2 separate regions of the Homo sapiens genome follow, and region 2 is linked to region 1. Evidence: promoter capture Hi-C in 16 types of primary human blood cells and fetal thymus (Javierre and others, 2016). All regions are on one chromosome and are shown on one strand. Each heading gives the region's core, a stretch centred on a gene start or on the middle of the fragment in contact. The rest is flanking DNA. Distances are from core to core; before and after follow the strand shown. Region 1 holds the start of BTN2A2 (butyrophilin subfamily 2 member A2). Region 2 overlaps ZNF322 (zinc finger protein 322).

Region 1 (5,761 bases), core at 1,852-4,351:
TCTTTCTCTGTGGAGTTAGCAGGAATTATAGATAACTTTGTTTCTGTATTTAGTTGTGCTTTAATAAAAATCATCTATTTATATAAAAGTCACTCTCTCTGCAATCAGTATTTCAGGAAAGAAGAAAATGTCAAGATTAATATTTATCGAAAAATAAGATTTCATGTCATAGTTCTCTGGGCAGTTCTTATTGATTCTGATTGCCCCGGGACAATTTTTGACAGTGTCTCCTTTCACTCTCAGACGTGCACAGTTCAGTGCCAAGGCAGGCATAAGACTTTCTTTTCCGGGATTAACTATTTTCCCCTGCTCATGGCCTCAGCTGAGGAATGCGTGTGCTTCTGAAGAAGTGAAGCCCAGGCTGGGCGTGGTGGCGCACGCCTGTAATCCTAGCACTTTGGGAGACTGAGGCAGGTGGATCACAAGGTCAGGAGTTTGAGACCAGCCTGCCAACATGGTGAAACCCCGTCTCTACTAAAAAAATGCAAAAATTAGCCGGGCATGGTGGTGTATGCCTGTAATCTCAGCTACTCAGGAGGCTGAGGCAGGAGAATAGCTTGAACCCAGGAGGCAGAGGTTGCAGTGAGCCAAGATCGCACCACTGCACTCCAGCCTGGGCAACATAGCAAGACTCTGTCTTGAAAAAAAAAAAAAAAGAAGTGAAACCTATAGCTTAGCAGGGCAAACCCACTCATGTGGCCTTTGTGCAAGAGGAAGCCACTTTCTCTGTGGAAAGGGGACGCCAGATAGAAATCCGTTGGTCTGCAATGGGCCTGAGGTTAAGGGAGAAACTTTCCCCAAAAGTCACACTGTGCAAAAGTAATAAAGCAAAATGAAGTGATGCACCTGCCACCACGAGGCGTAGGATGGCCTCATCGTAGGACCTGCCTTCTTGGAAGTAACAGCGGTAGATCCCATTCTCCTGGGCTGTGACGTTATGTATGACCAGGGCCACGCTGCCCCTGTTGATGTCTTTGCTCACAAAGGTGATTCTTCCCCGGTACTCCTCCATCTGCTCCTCTGTTCTCTCTCTCCCACCCTTATACACAAACACTGCGGGGGAGAACTGAGACCGGAACCACCGCACCTCCATGTCCTCAGCATTTTTCTCGGGTGACAGATGGCAGCGTAATGTAGTGTTTTCTCCCACCATGGCCAGGATGGGATTAGCTGGCCCCACGACAGTAAACTGGGCTGTTCAACAAGGGCAGAATCAGACAAGGATGCCAGTTATCACAACTCTAAGGCAAAACAAAAAACAAAAAACAAAAACAAACAAACAAAAAAAACTCCAGGGATGAAAGGAAGCAGATATTCCAAGGCTACAGGGGTTCTTGGGCTGAGAACCCTTCTGGGGACCAGTAGCTGTGGCTGGTCGGCAGCACCAACCCCTGGGAGCAGTAACTATTGAGGCTGCTCCTGCTTCACGAAGGAAACATTGGGGAGCCCGCCCTGGGCACCCTGTGCCCCTGAGATTTTCCTCCATTTTGCAATCTAGCACTGTGCCTGAGTGTAGTGTAAACTTGAACTGTCCATTAGGGTATCTATCCACTAGCTATTTAACAGTTCCAATAAAAATGAACTCTAAGTGTAAAACACACACAGATTATAAAGATTTAAAATTTCAAAATGTCAAATATCTCATTGGTAATAGTTCTATTAACTAAGCATTTAAATATTGATATGTGATTATTTATATGAAACAAAATACATTATTAAAATTTATTTCAAGTATGTTTTTACCTTTTAAAATAAAAAGTAGAATAGGCACAGGGTCTTGCGCCTGTAATTGCAGATATTTGGGAGGCCAAAGTGGGAGGATCCTTAACAGCTAGGAGTTTGAGACCAGCCTGGGCAAAATAGTGAGACCCTGTCTCTACAAAAAATAAAACTTAGTCGAGTGTGGTGGCCCTTGCTTGTACTCTCAGCTACTTGGGAGGCTGAGATGGGAGGATCCCTTGAGCCCAGGAGTTTCAGGTTACAGTGAGTTATGATCTCATTCTCCATCTGCTTCATTCCGGCCTGGCAACAGAGCAATATACTCTCTCTTAAATAAATAAACAAATAAATAAAAAGTTAAAAAAATCTTTTTGAAGATTTGCACTTGTATATGCACTTGACCTTTGTGCTTCACTGTGTTTCTTTTGGACAGTGCTGGTATAAATTCAGTGAACATGTTCAGAATGAAAGGATAAGTCAACAACCCCACAGTTCTTCCTTCTTTCCCTTTGCAGACTACAGGGTTGATGTTCCTTTCTGAGAGGTGACAGCAGCAAGTGACACACATCCCTACCTGAGACCAGTGCACACAGGCTGAGAAGGAGGAGGAGCAGGAGGAGGAGGAGGGAGGCTGGCAGGGAGAAGTGCAGAGCAGCAGCTGGTTCCATGAGCACCCAGGGCAGGCAGAGACCAGAGGCCTAGGGTTACAGAGGAGGAGAATCAGCCTAGGAGTCTTGGCACCTCAGTGCTGGTCGGGCCCAACCTCTCCTGTCACTCAAGTAGGTCTCATCGGTGCCCCAACTTCTGGGAGTCGCTTGCATCTCAAGGCTCAGGTATCTCCGAAAGAGGGATTCCGTAAACATTCCATAAGTAAGCCATCAATGCAGAGATCAAGGGGGCCGTTTTCCTCCTTCCTCTTCCCACTTCTCGGGCCACAGTCCGGTTTCTTCAGTTGTCCCTGGATTCTTTCACACCCTCGTCCCTCCACTTCCCCCTCCCCGAGACCCAGGTCGGGACACTCGAGGTAAAGCCAGGCGAGGCTGCGCCTCCCCACCAGTAGGCTTCCTGTCTCCCAGGTCCCCCTCTCCTCTCCAGAGCAGATCCCGCTCCCCGCACCTACCGCCCCCAGCTACCGCCCCCACCCCGGAGCTGTAGCGCCTCCTCTCCCTTTCCTACCTTCTAGAACTAACCTCTGTTTTCTTTTCCCCTCTGATCCTCACATGACGATTTTCCGATACAACTCACCCATGGGCACAGTCACCACCAGACAACAAAGCATCCCAAAGAGAAGAGAAAAGCTGTGTTCACCTCCTATTAATCGCGATGTTTGGAGTTGCGGACTCGGTATCTGGGACCTGTTCTCTGGGTGTCCAAAAAGTCCCAAGATTTCCACTGAGCAGTTTAGAGCCCAGGATTGGCCGAGTGAGGCTGAACCAACCAATGGTGTCTCGAGCCTTATTTCTCAGCTGTTACTAGGTAGAATACACACACAAAAACCCCCCAAAAATCTCAAGCAGCAAATAACCTTTTGGGATTATTAGGTATTTCTATTTCCTTTTTCTGTCTTTGGAAGCAAGACTTTTTTCCTTTATTTTCCTTTCTTCCTTCCTTTCTTCCTTCCTTCCTTGCTTCCTTCTTTCCTTTCTCATTCTCTTTTTCTTTCTTTCTTTCTTTCATATGTCTCTCTCTCACTTTATTCTTTCTTTCTTTCTCGCTTTCTTTCTTTTTTCTTCCTTCCTTCCTTCCTCTCTCTTCCTTTCTCTCTTTCTCTTCCTTCTCTTCTCCTTCCTTTCTTTCTTTCTCTTTCTTTCTTTCTTTCTTTCTTTCTTTCTTTCTTTCTTTCTTTCTTTCTTTCTTTCTTTCTTTCCTTCTCTCTCTCTCTCTTTCTTTCTTTCCTTCCGTTCTTTTACAAAGCCTTGAGATCCCCAAGGTGTCAGTGGCTTTGCTGGTGTAGACGAGGAGAGGGCTCTCTATGTAGAGTGATTTTGCTGGGGAGGAAACATGAGGAGGAAAACATAAGCCGCCGTCTTTCCAAAGCCAGAGGACTCTTGTTCATGTTGCTGGCTTTGAAGGTTGGGCCTGGTGCGCGGGAGGCCTTGGGGGAAGCAGGCATGGCTGGAGTGGGAGGGGTAGCAAAGGAAAGGTGACAGCAGTTGCAGTGGCTGTTATGAAGGTCTTGTTGTTCACTCCAAAGCTATTGGATAAGACGTGCTGAGAATACTGAGTGAGGATTAAAAACCCTTTCCCACGGGGAGGTGGTATTCTGGTGGAGGCAGAAGATGGAAGTGAGCAAAGACTTTCAGTTGACCTTGACCTTCTGCCAGTAGGTGGTGGGGTTAAGTCCAAGGACCACACACACACACCAGCACACATAACCTCCTCCCCATGAACATAATCCCTCCCCCACAGAATCCAATCTTGTCATTGTATAGATATCTTCCAGAATAATCTTCCCAAGGCCCAGTTGTCAATAATCCCCTCAAATGTCTAAATACTTAGTCTGGAACTGGTGCAGTGGCTCACACCTGTAATCCCAACACTTTGGGAGGAGGAGGCAGGCAGATCACTTGAAGTCAGGAGTTCAAGACCAGCATGGCCAACATGATGAAACCCCGTCTCTACCAAAAAAAAAAAAAAAAAAAAAATTAGCTGGGTGTGGTGGCACATGCCTGTAATCCCAGCTACTCAGGAGGCTGAGGCAGGAGAATGGCTTGAACCTGGGAGGTGGAGGTTAGGGTGAGCTGAGATCATGCCACTGCACTCCAGCCTGGGTGACAAAGTGAGACCCTGCCTCAAAATAAATAAATAAATAATAAAATATACACAAATAAATGCTTAGTCTAGAGGCCTCCAATTCCCTTCTGATTCAATTCAAAACTTTGCAGTTAATACACTAGCAATGGCTCCACAGTGGCCTTGCATCACAACGTTGCACTCCCTGTGGCCAGCGCTCCCTTTCCCATGCCATGCCTTTCACTTGAATTGCTTGCTCCATCTTTGCCCCTTGAAATCCTGCCCAGCCTTCGTGCCTACTTCCTCCAAGAACAACTCTGAATGCTCCTGCCTGAAGTGCTCTCGGCCTCTTCTAACACCCATATCTTTTGCTGTTCCCATGTCCTGTCTTCTATTATTGTTATCCAGGTATCAACTGTGTCTTTGCTGTGACTGGAGTACCTGTTCCTCAGGACAGACTTCTGCAGGATGTGATTCTTCTCTCCTTACAAGGCCCAACTCTAAGCTCTGCTCTCAGCTGTTGTTCAATGCATGAGTGACATGCTCAGGGTAAGGTCATTCCCACCACAGGATGGCCCAGTTCCTGGAATCATTCGGCACCAGAGTTCGAGAGAGAGGTGGCAGCACTATTAAGCCACTCTAGATCAGAAGATCAAGGACCAGGAAGGATGAACCAGTAGGTCCCTTCTGCAGAGAAAGCTCTTTGATGAGAATAAGATAAAGAAAGGCCTAAGAAGTGTTTTTACTATTGAATTGACACTTGAACTGTCCCATTCTCATACAGAAGCCTCACTCATCACCTGATATTTCTGGATTATAATTAAAATTGGATCCTGGGTTGAGTGGCTAATGAGGGTAATTATGTCAGTATTAGAATATTCCAACCAGGACTGGGCAGCTGTTGGGAAAGGACAGAAGAGAAGGATGCAAGTGTCTAAGAGCATGGCCACCCAGGATGAGACCTGACTTTATATTTTTATTTGAAGAAATAAGACCCAGGGCTTTGAAGCAGCTTGTGCAAGAAGCATCCAGCTAAGCCAGGCCTCAACCTCTGCCAAAGTTCATCTGAGCAGGAGGGAAACATGTGTGTTCTGAGAAGGAAGAGGATCATTTGGCCATGGGGTAGCTTAGCAAGAAACCAGGTTCTACTGGGGTGTGCCAGGTTAGATAGTAATGATCTAACCCAATCATACTGTGTCCTGGGATGGAAAAAGAGACAGGAAGGGTCACTTCAGAAAGATTCTTTATGGACATGGTGTACCTGCCAATCCTGGAAGAACCGGGACCCGGAGTGAGCAATGATTCACTG
Region 2 (5,761 bases), core at 2,358-4,857, 260 kb before region 1:
CATCATTCTGTGTCTGTCTTATTTCACTTAACATAATGTCCTCCAAGTTCATTTATGTTGATGCAAATGAGAGAATTTTATTCTTTTTTTTTTTTTTTGCATGTGAATGTCTAGTTACTTCAGCACCATTTGTTGAAAAGACTGTCTTTTTCTGCCTTGTATTTATTGCCTTTGTTCCTTTATCATGGATCAGCTGACTCTATTTATATGGGTATATTTTTGGACTCTATTCTGTTCCATTTATCTATTTGTCTGTTTTTTCACCATTACCACACTTTCTTGATTACTATAGCTTTAGTCTTGTAACTTCAAATAGTATAGTAAGTGTTGAAGTTAGGTAGCATCAGTCCTCCAACTTTGTTCCTGCCCTTCAGCATTATGATCGCTAATCTAGGTCTTTTACCTCTTCATATAAACTTTGTATCAGTATGTCAATATTCACAAGATAATTTGCTGGGATTGTGTTGAATCTGTAGTACAAGTTGGGAAGAACTGACTATTTGACAATATTGAATCTTCTTATCCATGGATGTGGAATATCCCTCCATTTATTTAGTTCTCTTTTTTATTTCTTAGAGTTTTCAAATTTTCTTTGCATAAATTATGAACATATTTGGTTAGATTTATACTTAAGATGTTTTATTTTTTAGAGTGTTAATGTAAATGGTATTGTGTTTTTAATTTCAAATTTTACTTGTTCATTGCTGGTATAGAGGAAAATAATTGATTTGTATGTTAACCCTGTATTGTACAACCTTAACTGTAATCACTTCCTAGTCCCAGGAGTTTTTTGTCAATGATTTTTTCAGATTTTTACATATATGGTCATGTCACTTACAAAGACAGTTTTATTTCTTCCTTCCTAATCTCTATACCTTTTATTTCCTTTTCTTGTCTTGTAGCATTATCTCTCTATTCCAGTATTATGTTGAAAAGCAGTGGTGAGAGAGAACATTCTTACCTTGTTCCTGATGTTAGCTGAAAGCTTCTAAGTTTTCACCATTAAGTATGATGTTAGCAGTGGTTTTCTTGTAGATGTGCTTTATCAACTTGAAGAAGTTTCTCTTTGTTCCTAGTAATATCACTTATTTTAATTTGCATTTCTCTAATTATGAGATTGAACAGCTTCTCATATATTTAAGGGACATTTTTATATTTTGTGTGTGTGAGAATTGTCTTTTGCTTATTTTTCTATCAGATGTTTGTCGTTTTCCCTCAATTTTTAAGAGATCTTTATATATTAGGTATATTGTCCCTGTATCTCAAATATTGTTACAAATATTTTCTCTTAGTTTGCCCATTGACCGTTGACTTTGTTCATTTTTTATATATATAAAATGTTTTTGGCTGGCACAGTGGCGCACGCCTGTAATCCCAGCACTTTGGGAGGCTGAGGCGGGCAGATCACCTGAGGTCGGGAGTTCGAGATCAACCTGACCAACATGGAGAGACCCCGTCTCTACTAAAAATACAGAATTAGCCAGGCATGGTGGTGCATGCCTGCAATCCCAGCTACTCAGGAGGCTGAGGCAGGAGAATCACTTGAACTCAGGAGGCAGAGGTTGTGGTGAGCCAAGATCACGCCATTGCACTCCAGTCTGGGCAACAAGAGCGAAACTCAGTCTCAAAAAAAAAAAAAAAAAAATATATATATATATATATATATATATACACACACACACACACACACACACACACACACACACACATATGTATGTATATATAAAAGAAAACTTTAAAAAAAGTTTTTATTTTTAGTCAAATGATCAGTCTTACAGATAGAAAATTTTTGGTACCCTAAGATTAATGTAGAATTTACTTTAGTTTTCTTGTAGTATCTTATCATTTCCATGTATACATTTAGAACCCTAACCAATTGGGAGTTTATATTGGTGTGTGGTATGAAGTGTAGACCAAATTGTACCTATTTTCATGTGGCTACCTTGATGTTTTACCATCATTTATTAAAAAGTCCATTTTTGCCCTGGTGATTTGAGATGTCATCTTTATTGTATACTAAATTTCTATATGTGTTTATTTCTGGATTTCCTTTTCTATTTGTCCCTTTATCTAATTGTGTTTTGGAACTCTGTTGTTTTAATATTAGAAGCTTTAAAGTTTATTTTAATGTCTCATGGGTTTAGTTACCCTTCATAGTCTGTCTTTTCATTGCTTCATGGCTGTCCTTGTTGGTCTTTTCAAAGTGAACTTGAGTAGCAACTGTACAGCTTAGGCATTGGAGATTTTTCTTTAAAGGGCCAGAAAGTATTGTATTTAGGCTTTGGTGGCTATCTGGTCTCTATTGTGACTACTCAATTCTGCCTTTCAATACATTAATGAATAAGTATGACCCTATTTCAGTAAAATTTTATTTGAAAAAAACAGGTGGCAGGCCAGAATTGGCCTGTGGGCCATAGTTTGCCACCCCTTAGTCTAGTTTCATAAAGAAGCTTGTTATTTTTATTGAGATTGCATTGTTTATAAATCTTAGGAGGGAACATCTTCATAATGTTGAATTGTTCTATGCAAGAACAAAGGCTGTCCTTCCATTTATTCGAGTCTATTTTTGGGTCTCAGGAGGGAGAAGTTTTCCTATGCTTTATTTGGCATGGCTATGTTTTATTTATTTCTAAGTAGTTTTATATTGCTGCTGTTATACAAAGGTTGTTCTCTATCATTGTGTGTTCCAATTAGTTATTCTTTATATTTATGTAAAAAACTGGTGGTTTCTGTGTGGCAAATTTTATATCCTGCTACCATACTGAATTCCTTTATCATTTGAGTTAGTTTTAGCATTGGTCCTTTGTAGGGTTTTCTAATTCTACTATTAAATCACCTCCAAATAGAGATAGTTTTACTTCTTTCACACCTCTAATTGATTTTTCTAATTGCATTGATTAATACTTCCAGGTCAGTGATTGAAAAGAGAAGTATTGGCCATACTTGCCTTGTTCCTGATCTTAGTAAAAATTATTGTAGTTTTTCTAACTTAAGGTACTGGATGAAGGAATGTATGTTTTATCATATTAAAAGGAAATATCTATTAATTTCCACTTTCTTGAGTGTTTTTATCCAGAATAGATGTTGATTTCTGTTGCAGGTTCTTTCACTATCTATGGAGATAATATATTATTTTTCTCCATAGGTCTGTTCATATGGGGTATTATATTTAGTGGATTTCCTCATATTGAAAGATAGTCTAATTTTGAACCAATTTTGCAAAAATTCCACTTGGTCATGGTATATTATTTTCTTAATGTGGTATTGATTTTTGTTAGTATTTCTCACATTCATAAAAAATGTTAGCCAGGCATGGTGGTGTGTACCTATACCCCAGCTATTCAGGAGGCTGAGCCAGGAGAATTGCTTGAGCCTAGGAGCTTGAGGCTACAGTGGGCTATGATTGTGCCACTGCTCTCCAGCCTGGGTATCAGAGCAAGACCCCGACTCTTTAAAAAAAAAAAAAAAAGCGATATTGGATATTAAAATTTTTTTATGCTCTCTTCATCAGGTTTAGTTACCAGTGCTATCCTTATTTCACAAAAAGAATTAGGAAGTTGTGCTTCATTTTCGGTGCTCTGGAAAATATGTATGAAGCATTGTATTTATTTGGTCTGTGTAGATTTATAGAATTATTTCGTGAAATAATCTGGGCCTAGTGCTTTTTATGGAATGGTTCCTTTATAACTTTTTCTATTTATTCTCTGCAAATTGGTGTTTTAAGACTTTATATCTTTAATGGAGTCAACTCTAATAAATTGTGTTTCATAAAGAAACCCTTATTTTATAGTTAATCATATTTATTTATATAGAGATTTGCAAAGTGGTTTCATGTATGTGTGTTTTTCTTTTCGGTGGTTATTCTTCCTTGTCATTTCTTATTTTGTAAATGTGTGCTTTCTTCCTTTTTTTCAATTAAGTAACCTAGTGGTTTATCTGTTTCTTTAAGTTTTACAAAATAAGTATGATTTTGATTTATCATTAGATTTACTGTCTTTTTGTTCTCTAGTTCATTGATTTCTCCTTTTATCTATTTTTGTTATTATTTTGATTTTTTTTCCCATTAAAAAACAAAATAGAGACAGGATCTTGCTATGTTGTCCAGGCTGGTCTTGAACTCCTGGGTTCAAACAATCCTACTGCCTCGGCCTCCCAAAGCACTGGGATTGTAGGTATGAGCTACCATACCTACTTATTTATTTAAAATAGAAATTGGGTCTCATTAATATTGCCCAGGCTGGTCTTGAACTCCTGGGCTCAATTGAAATTTATTTTTTTCTTAGCTTTTGATCTAAGAATTTAACTTGTTCATTTAAATTCTTCTGTTTTTATTGATTAAAGAAATATAGGCATGAACTGGTTTAAATTTATCCCATAGATTGTAATATATAATATTTTCAATTATGAATACTTAAAAATTTTGTTAACTTTTTCATTGCCCCTTTTACTGAATAGTTTTTTAACAGTTTATTTTCCCCCCATTTGAAAGGACCTTTGGTCGCTTGATATTTTAATAAATTTCTAGTTTTGTTGCAGATTGTTTCTTGTAATGTTTCTTTGCGATAATGATGCTTCCTTTATTACATAATATATGACAGATTTTTGTGGATGATTCATGTGTTCTTAAAAAGAATGTGTACTTATCAGGACATACGGTTTAATATAAATAAGATTTACTTATTAATTAGGTTATTTAGGCCTTCTGCATCATTACTTCTTGGTCCAGTTTGTATGTCTTTTATTGAGAGTGGTATATTAAGCTTTCCTATTATTAATATTTTTATCTCTGTTTCTTTGTATCTGTTTCTCTGTTTTTCCTTTGTAAATGTGCCTGCTGTGTAATGTGATACATAGATAACCATGACTTTAGTGTAATTTAGAAAGTATTATTATGTTTAATTCTTTTGGCTTGAACTCTACTTTGCCTGATATCAGGATCAAAAGCCCTACTTTTATTGTTTCTGTTTGCCTAGTGTTCCTTTTCCCACCTCCTTATTTTTAGCCTGCCTGAATCACTTTGCTTTAGGTGTCTCTTGTATTTAGCATATAGTTAGGTCTTGCTTGTGAGCCAAAATGAAAATCTCTTTCTTTTAATAGGTGTGTTAAGCTCATTTATATTTATTGATATAGTTGATGTTTGGTTTTAACAATGTCATATTGTTATAACTGTATTTTGTTACTTTTTTTTCTACGATAGGTTTTCATAGCTCTTTCATGACTTTCTGTTTTGAATGTTTGATTTTTGTTATATTAGCTACTTTTGTACTTAGATTTATTTATTTATTTATTTATTTATTTATTTATTTATTTATTTTGAGGCGGAGTTTCGCTGTTGTTGCCCAGGCTGGAGTGCAATGGCCTGATCTTGGCTCACCGCAACCTCCACCTCCTGGGTTCAAGTGATTCTCCTGCCTCAGCCTCCCAAGTAGCTGGGATTACAGGGATGTGCCACCACACCCGGCTAATTTTGTATTTTTAGTAGAGACAGGGTTTCTCCATGTTGGTCAGGCTGGTCTCGAACTCCCGACCTCATATGATCCGCCTGCCTCGGTCTCCCAAAGTGCGGGGATTACAGGCGTGAGCCACCGCACCTGACCATACTTAGATCTTTTTTAATGCCTTTAGTTCATTAAAAAAATAAATTTTTATATTTAACCTTTAATTATTTGGTTTTTAAGGGTTTCTAAAATTTTTCTTTTCTAAAAGGCCATTTCAGCTTCAGATGGTTTTTTAGTTTAATAGTGTACTTTAATTCTCACCT

Evidence for each region. The method cuts DNA at HindIII sites, captures the fragments that hold promoters and counts their contacts. A CHiCAGO score of 5 or more calls a contact.
Region 2: a fragment that was not itself captured here is called in contact with the fragment with the promoter of BTN2A2 in region 1 in 1 of 17 cell types (neutrophils); the score reaches 5.0 in neutrophils.

What each region holds. Positions count from the first base shown.
Region 1 is chr6:26,380,448-26,386,208 of GRCh38, reverse strand. BTN2A2 (butyrophilin subfamily 2 member A2) reads right to left here and starts at 3,101. Exons shown (of 8, transcript NM_006995.5): 1 at 3,028-3,101; 2 at 2,294-2,417; 3 at 847-1,194. The coding sequence starts at 2,387. RefSeq lists a silencer at 3,163-3,252. The HindIII fragment of the contact is 7,335 bases long and covers 1-5,761 here.
Region 2 is chr6:26,645,586-26,651,346 of GRCh38, reverse strand. All of the region lies in intron 2 of ZNF322 (zinc finger protein 322), which reads left to right. Among named protein-coding and RNA genes, the nearest start is that of ZNF322, 11 kb to the left of the region's middle. The HindIII fragment of the contact is 2,310 bases long and covers 2,453-4,762 here.